Regions from separate parts of the Homo sapiens genome. Here regions 1 and 2 are each linked to region 3. The links are contacts of gene promoters, found by promoter capture Hi-C in blood cells and fetal thymus (Javierre and others, 2016). All regions are on one chromosome and are shown on one strand. Each heading gives the region's core, a stretch centred on a gene start or on the middle of the fragment in contact. The rest is flanking DNA. Distances are from core to core; before and after follow the strand shown.

The links. Contacts are between HindIII fragments. The CHiCAGO score rates a contact against its expected background, and 5 or more counts as called.
Region 1: a contact is called between a fragment that was not itself captured here and the fragment with the promoter of AMBN in region 3, in 1 of 17 cell types (fetal thymus). The highest score is 5.3, in fetal thymus.
Region 2: a fragment that was not itself captured here is called in contact with the fragment with the promoter of AMBN in region 3 in 1 of 17 cell types (fetal thymus); the score reaches 5.1 in fetal thymus.

What each region holds. Positions count from the first base shown.
Region 1 is chr4:71,250,712-71,253,411 of GRCh38, forward strand. All of the region lies in intron 2 of SLC4A4 (solute carrier family 4 member 4), which reads left to right. Among named protein-coding and RNA genes, the nearest start is that of SLC4A4, 65 kb to the left of the region's middle. The HindIII fragment of the contact is 277 bases long and covers 1,228-1,504 here.
Region 2 is chr4:71,562,399-71,565,098 of GRCh38, forward strand. It overlaps SLC4A4 (solute carrier family 4 member 4), which reads left to right. Exons shown (of 26, transcript NM_001098484.3): 24 at 1,395-1,491. Among named protein-coding and RNA genes, the nearest start is that of GC, 220 kb to the right of the region's middle. The HindIII fragment of the contact is 529 bases long and covers 1,129-1,657 here.
Region 3 is chr4:70,590,961-70,593,660 of GRCh38, forward strand. AMBN (ameloblastin) reads left to right here and starts at 1,296. Exons shown (of 13, transcript NM_016519.6): 1 at 1,296-1,413; 2 at 2,367-2,435. The coding sequence starts at 1,399. The HindIII fragment of the contact is 2,262 bases long and covers 751-2,700 here.

The sequences.
Region 1 (2,700 bases), core at 116-2,615, 660 kb after region 3:
AGCCAATGAGGAAGGTGACATAATAAGTTATTAAATTTATGATATAAATATAGTATGTTTTACAGAACACACCATCAAAGTAGTGATGAAGCACTGTACTAGTCTTGATACTGAGAACAGAGACATATTTCTCCTGTGGGGTTTTATGAAGAGAACACTTCATACAAAGTTAAATGGTTATAATGTCCTTGGCTTCCTCAAACTGTGGTTTTTGCACCTGTACAATGGGGATAGGAGCAGGATTGCATGAGGAGGTAGATATAAAACACCTCGCAGTGCTTGGCATGCTTGTAAGTATTCACTAAATAGTTGCTATCATCTGTATGTACAGTAAACACAGCAACATGTTTCCCAGGAAGGAGCTAATAGATGTATCTTACATATAGAGGCATATGTTGTTAACCATCCACTCAGCTATAGAATTTGTAGTTTGGCTGATCTAAAACCCTTTTCTGGCTTGAAGGTTTTCATACTTCAAAGTGTTAAATCATCCTTGGTAGCAAAATGTGTATTTGTGAAAGCCACCTTAATTTGAATGGCTCCAGAGTTACTAAGTGTAAGTTTTTTGTTTGCCAGAAAACATTGTAGCAACTATGAGAAGTATGAAGTTAGGTTAGAAATATTTCAGGAATTGGGATAATTGGATGAGTTAACATCATAGTACTTCCTACTTGCAACTGGGGTGGAGCATGTAAGGATGGGAAGAAACAAGAATCACGTAGTGATCATTTCTGACATTCAGAGATACCCAGGAAAGCCATGTTTTCTTTCCAGTAGTACTGGCTGTGGTACGGATTGGGAGATATTCCCAAGATATTTAGAGTTTGTTGGGAACTTGCACCATCTGTCAGAGAAAGGCATGCAGGGTATTTATTTGAACACATGATACTGAAGCCACTGCCAAATCAAGGACTGAATGCTCTTTGACAGCACACCTAAATGAACACTGTCAAATGTAGATTCCAGTAGTTTTACTTCATGAAGTTTCAGTAGCAAGAATGTAACATTTATTTTGATAACATTTAAAACGATCACTTCTTCCTCATACATTATAGCTCTTAAAATTTTTTCCACTCCTCCTTTTTACATTATCTTTGGAAGCAGTATTTCCTGAGTTTTCTAGTGGAGAATTTTTTTTTAGCCTAAAAAGTTCTGTATAAGAAGCAGGTTAACTATCCCTGATTCTTTAATGGTCTTACTGTTTTGTAGTCCCTTGCTGGGTTGGAAAGCTTGTCTGTCAAGTTTCTCCTTTTCATATTACAGGGAAAACAATACTATATCCTCAGCTTTGTGACTCCCCTAAGAACTTGCAGTCATTTTATGAGTTATAATTTTAAAAATAGTCATCAGTCTTCATGACATATCCCTTAAACAGGTAAAGAGATTTTAATGAAAATAAATATTGAGATCCACATGTGATGTTCTCATCAATCATAGCATATTTTCAACAGTAATGATGCTTCTATTGATCATGATGACAGATATTCTGTGGGGGCAGTGAGAAAGCTTCCATTACAGCTCATTTTACTTTCGGTGTTTTGGTTACTTGGCACATATAGCTTATTAAGTATTTGATTGTCCCTTTGAGACAGCATGTCTGTATTACCCCATCCACCAAAGCAAGGCTATCTTGCTCTCTTCTTATAGGCAAGGAAGCTGAAGTGAGAGAGGCTGAGAAGTAACTGATGGAGCAGAAAGCACTGTCCCTGAGCCCCTCAAGGTTTGCTTAACCATGGAACTATGTTCCTTGTCCTCTACCTGAACACAAGACAGAAAAGGAAAATTTAGTTACCAATCACATGTGAGAGGAGGAGGATGCTTTAAGTTTTGAATTGCTCAGCTCAGTGGCTTGATTTCCTCTGGCAGTTGTTGGAAGGCAATATCTTCCTCATCCAGGGAATATTGTATTTTATTGTGCTGTAAGGATGTCTACAAAAAGTTCATTGCCATATGAGTACTAGAGAATGGTAGCTTCGCAGAGGCCATCACTAAGAGTTTTAAAACGTGGTCAAGAGTGGTTGCATTAGACAGGAGTGGGAACAGAGAGTGACTGCAAATGGATATGAGGGATCTTTTTGGATTGGTGGAAATGTTCTAAAATTGGATTATGATGATCGTTGCACAACTCTGTAAATATACTAAAATCATTGACTGTATCATTAAAATGAGTGGATTTTATTGTTTATAAATTACACCCCAGTAAAGGTGATTTTAAAATGCCTAAAATTTGGCATGTCTTGAGAGGAACAACATTTCTGCTTGACCTCTGGGCACCATAGCACTTCACAGTGCAGTGTCAATTCTGAACGCTCCCACACCTGTGTGGAAGTGCACAGGGAAAACCAAGAAGGAGGAGTTGGAGGAAATGGGGATAGACAGAATCTGTTGCTGAGAGGATGCCTATCATCACGATGTGAACAAAATGGCACCACTTATGTGATAATGACAACTCAAAGTAGGTTCCAAAAAGTCAAGTGCATTTCTCTCCAGGGTTTGATGGCTCACTCTCTGAACTGGCCTAACTCTTTCATTAGATTGACCATGATGACACTTCCTAGCCAGTAATCTTACCTTAGCATCTTATCCACCCATATAGACTGTCTATTAAATGATTTGATCAAATGTACTATGCAGATTTGGGTAAATATAATTTAAAAAACCTTTCTATATAACATCATATGGCAATATAGCTTAATTACC
Region 2 (2,700 bases), core at 143-2,642, 970 kb after region 3:
AGTCATGCGGGGACATGAGGGTTACAGCTATAATATAATATTTATGAGCACAATTAGTGAAAATTATAGCTCTTCTTGTTACATTGATCCCTTTACCATTATGTAATGCCCTTCTTTGTCTTTTTTGATCTTTGTTGGTTTAAAATTTGTTTTATCAGAGAGTAGGATTGCAACCACTGCTTTTTTTTTTCTTTCCATTTGCTTGGTAAATATTTCTCCATCCCTTTATTTTGAGCCTATGTGTGTCTTTGCATGTGAGATGGGTCTCCTGAATACAGCACACCGATGGGTCTTGATTCTATCCAATTTGCCAGTCTGTGTCTTTTAATTGGGGCATTTAGCCCCTTTACATTTAAGATTAATATTGTTTATGTGTGGCATCTTTATTTTTTTTTCTTTTTTGCTCGTTGAATGCATTATCTTAGTTCTCTAAAAGGATACTGTTGTTCATTAACCTCTTTAGAGTCATAAATAAAGGAATTTTCCATGTAGGTAATAGGCTTTATGTTAAGATTTTATTAACATTAATTCTCATTTTATTTTCAACTAAAAACCATCTTTTTGGTACTTTTAATTAAGAGATATATTGGGTCTTTCAGCCCAAACATAGACTTGGAATCAATATAATGCATTTAAAAAAAACAAAGTGGTAATCTTTGGGAAATCTATTATAATTTGGGCTAGGTGGCTTGTTCTTTAAGCAGTCCCATGATTAGCTGCCTGGTTTTGTCATTTCCATTATGATTCTCTGCTTATCTGACCATCATAGACACCTTTTTAAACATTTTATTTTCTTATGTTTTGCTTACATTTTCAGATATCTTTGGCACAAGCTAATTGAAATGAACCTTTATCCATAAAATAGTACTTAAAGTAAGAGAGGAAAGTTTATTTTCTAGTGTACATAGAAGGCTTCTTGATAGTGGATATATAAAAAGTCTGTCACTTGTTCTAGAAGGAAAGATCGGTCATGATTTTATCTAGAGACGGAATCAGCATAAACAAAACAAGAATTTCAAGACCGTATTATAACCTGGGAAGTTTCCTATGTTTAATCTGTTTTTGCATTGAGATCATTTGCTTCACACATACAACTCATAAACATTGCTGATTGGGAGTCTGATAGAAAGCTTTACAATTCAGTTGTAGATCGATCTCTATTTTGTGCAGTTATAGTTTTAATTGACTCAATACCATTAACTTAGAAGAGTGGAAAACAAATGTGAGGGGGAAAGAAGGAATGCAGTTAAAAGATGGCAAACTGGAAGTAATTATAAGGCTTTTCTCCTTAGTAGTATGTAAATGATTATAGAAAACGGTTTGATCGATGCTAGGAGATAGGAAGGGCTGTATAATAAAAACATTCTAAAACCTCTTGTACATTTTTTTCACAGTCTGACTGCCCATACTCAGAAAAAGTTCCAAGTATTAAAATTCCAATGGACATCATGGAACAGCAACCTTTCCTAAGCGATAGCAAACCTTCTGACAGTGAGTAGAACTAACCTCTTGCATGCTTGCTTGAATATGATTTGCACTTACAGAGAAAACACTTTAGAATGGCCATCTGCATTAACTTTCCCTCAATTTTGTTTTTCCTTTTTCTATGAGAAGATTTACACTTAATTATAATAAAACTTTGTTTTTACATACCCTAAGCTTCATTCTTCCTTTTATCCATAAACTTTTAAATTTTTATTTGGTAGTCTTTTCTCTTACCCAAATCATCCCCAGTTTTTCCAATGGCTAAATTAATAACCATGTTTTTAATTGATTTTTCTTTTTTTTTCTGTTGGTATTGAGAATTGCAGCTTATAATACTACATCACTGTCACTGTTTGTCTTCCTTAGGTTTTAACTAGTGATCAAATCAGCTCAAAAGAGAAATTGCATCATTGGTCTCTCAGTGATCAATAAATCAATTGTTAATATTGAGAATTTGGAAAAATTTAATTTTGATTAAATTAGCAATCATGAAGTATTAGTACAACTTTCTAGATATAACTTATATGCATTTGCTTTCTAATCTCTTCATTCTCCCTTTTGCTATTTCAAAATTATTATTATAACTGCACTGATCTTTCTAGGGTGATAGCCTGGTGACTACGGTGCAATGGTTTGTGACATTTTTCTCTTCTGTAATTGAATTAACAGGCCACTTAGTAATATTAGTGACCATTTCAGACTTTCCCAATAGCAGGTAGCAATTGCCATCAAGCTACTTTCTACTTTGCGTTCTCATTGAAGAAAATGCATCCTTTTAGATTCAGATGCACTTCAGAGTACACTGATCTGTTACAGAAAAAGACAGTTAAGACACTTTTATTTCTATTTTACCATGCCACCTCAACTACAATAAGAGGTTACTGCTATCAAGAAAAGTTTGGAATGAATATCTATTGATAAAAAATAATGGGTATATTAGTTATCAATCATTGAGTAACAAATTACAATAAAACTCAGCAGCTTAAAAGAACAAACATGTTTTCTTACACAATTCCTCACATTCAGGAATGCAGGGGCAGCTGATTTTGGTTCTGGCTCAGAGTCTCTCATGAGATTGCCGTCAGAGCTGTCAAGCTGTCAGCTGGGGCTGAGTCTCTGAAGACTATTTTTTTTTTTTCCAGGAAGAAATGAAAGGATGATTTGAAAATTATAGTATACTCCACAGTGTGGGAGTGGGCCCAAGAATAGGGACTC
Region 3 (2,700 bases), core at 46-2,545:
AAAAAAAAGACTAGCTTGTGGTCATTAATTATTATCCTTACATAACAGAAGAAGGAACTGGGGCTCAAAAGAGATTAAGGGACTGCATCAAGCACCAGAGACAGCATGAAAAATAATACTTTTCATTTCAATAACATTTTGCTGTTTGCAAAACACATTCACATTCTTCATTTCTTTGCATCCTAAAGATAATTCTGGTATCAGTGGAACACAGAGGTTTTCAGGAGCAGCTTCTAAGATAACATTATTTGAAGCTGTTAGGCCTACATTTGGGTATGGATACAGCTTTCTCTCAAAATACCAGCTTCCTCAATGTTCCCTGTAATTGACAAGATCCCTACTTCCCTAAAGAGTGTACTGACTCATCCCTTCTTCAGAACTAATCTTAAATGCTTATCCCTACCATATCTGAAATCACAACTTTGGAAAGACAAGGATGGGCAGAGAAGTAACAAAAGCAGCTAATATTCAATCCACATCCAAGATATTATCTGTTCACGGAGAAAAACCAATCTGTGTTGACGTTAACCTTTTAAGTGATCGAAATATGTCTTATTAACCTGGCTTGATACTAATGCCTGGGAATGTGTCTATCTGAAGAGTGAACTGACACTTGTGCCCATTGATTTGGTTCATAGAGAATGTTCTGATTTACGTCCCCGTCCCCACAGATTTTTTTTAAAATGCACCAAACGTTTACCTGAAGTAAACCTGATTCTTGCAAAGGGTCCAACTGTAGTTTCTTACAAAAGCTTGGCTATCTCTAATCAATTATCTCCAGATATGAAAATATCTAGGAAATTCAAGGAAGAAATCACACACATTAATTTTCCATCTAACATTTTAGTGTTTTCTTTTAAACTCTGTGTGTGCTGGGGGGAAGGACAGTAGTCTCTTTTACTACAACAAACAGGAGGGTGAAAACCTGAAGAATGCTAGCATTGGGTCACTAGCTTTATCTGCAGATAAAACCTGCACAAAACAGGTTTTGTTTTGCACCTATTTTACATATATTTTCCCCAGCTCACCAAAATAATTGTCTTCAGAGCCTATGTCCATTATTCCTTTACTGCCTTCCCTGCTATCAAGTTCTCTGAATAAGTACAGGGGCTGCAGTACAATTAAAAATAATGAGACCCTACTGGGCCAATGTCCCTGCACGCAATAAAAGGGTGTGGACTAATTGCAGGAGCAGAGATTCCCGCCCCAACTCCCCCCCGCCACCCCTCGCCATTTTGCTTCACTTTGATTGGTGGATTGGCACTTTAAATAAAGGTTTCTAATCTTCCCTGAATGAGAAGTACAGAGCAAGTCCCACGCACAGTCCTGAAAAAAATTTTAATCTTCTTTTCTTAGAACTATCTTGGTTGGCATCATCAGGCCCTGAGAGCACAGTGCATGTCAGCATCTAAGGTAAAATGGGATTTTATGATTTCCATGTGTTTCCTGTAAATTCTTTTTTTCCTATCTCCTGACAGCTTTTATAAAGAGGATTTATCTTCATTTGTCACCAGTAGCTGAATTATTGCTTGTTGTAATCCATTAGCATGTCCCAGAGATGACATGCCTAACACCCATTCAACTAAGAAAAAAAAAAAGACTTTTATTTATAGATTGTGTTTTTTTTAATGTTTTTGATTATAGTGCCTAATTCTTTTTAATATTAGAAGATGAGTAAATTTCTAGGCTATTCAGATCTCTATTCATGTAAGAATAAAGAGCTTTTTGAATTTATAGAATAAATTTTAAAAGATAATTCATTTTAGGAAGAGGAAAGCTAAATTTGAGACATATTTTCCACTAACATCAAAGAAAATTAAGATAGCCAATTTACTCTCATTTGAAAAGAAAAATTTTGTCATGGTTACGTAGATTACCTAAACATGCAATGATGTACCCTCTATTCCTGCAAATAAAGGTTTGTTATAAAATGACTTAGTTGCATTACATTTCACATGCATTTCAAAATGTGTCCCAAAGGGTAAGCAAAGTATAAACTTCTGTGAATAATACCTTATAGACCAATATTTTACTTAGTGGGAAGGATTTTTAAACTCATAATTCACTTTATGAAATGAAATATATCACAAAGAATATCGATGGAGGTTGTTCCTACATACTTATTTAGGCTGTAGATCCATTTAAAACGTGCTTAGATATTTTTTAATTGCTTGTTAATTTATTTCAGAAACTACTACATACAAATCGGTTGTTTAGTAACATTTAGTTTTTGTTTTTGTTCTTCTAACCTTTATCCCGGTGGTTTTTGTAAGAGCAGAGACTCAGGCTCATTTTCAAAAATTGTCTTTTAACCATTCTGAATAAAAATTCATCTGATTTAATTCTCCAACTTAATTATGTTTTAGATTCCACTTTTCAAAATGAAGGACCTGATACTGATCCTATGCCTCCTGGAAATGAGTTTTGCAGTGCCGGTAAGTCAGTCTTTAGAGTGTGTCCCAGAAAAGGTTATTGATTGTCGAACTCCAAACAACACTGAAGGGATATGGACTGAGAGTCCACGCATAGACTCACTTGATTTAATCCAGTGGTTTAGTCCTATTGAGTCAAAAGCCATAGTTGCTCAGATGTCAGTCTTGCAATCCAAAAGCGGTAAGTGATAGCCGGGTGCGGTGGCTCACGCCTGTAATCCCAGCACTTTGGGAGGTTGAGGCAGGAGGATGACCTGAGGTGAGGAGC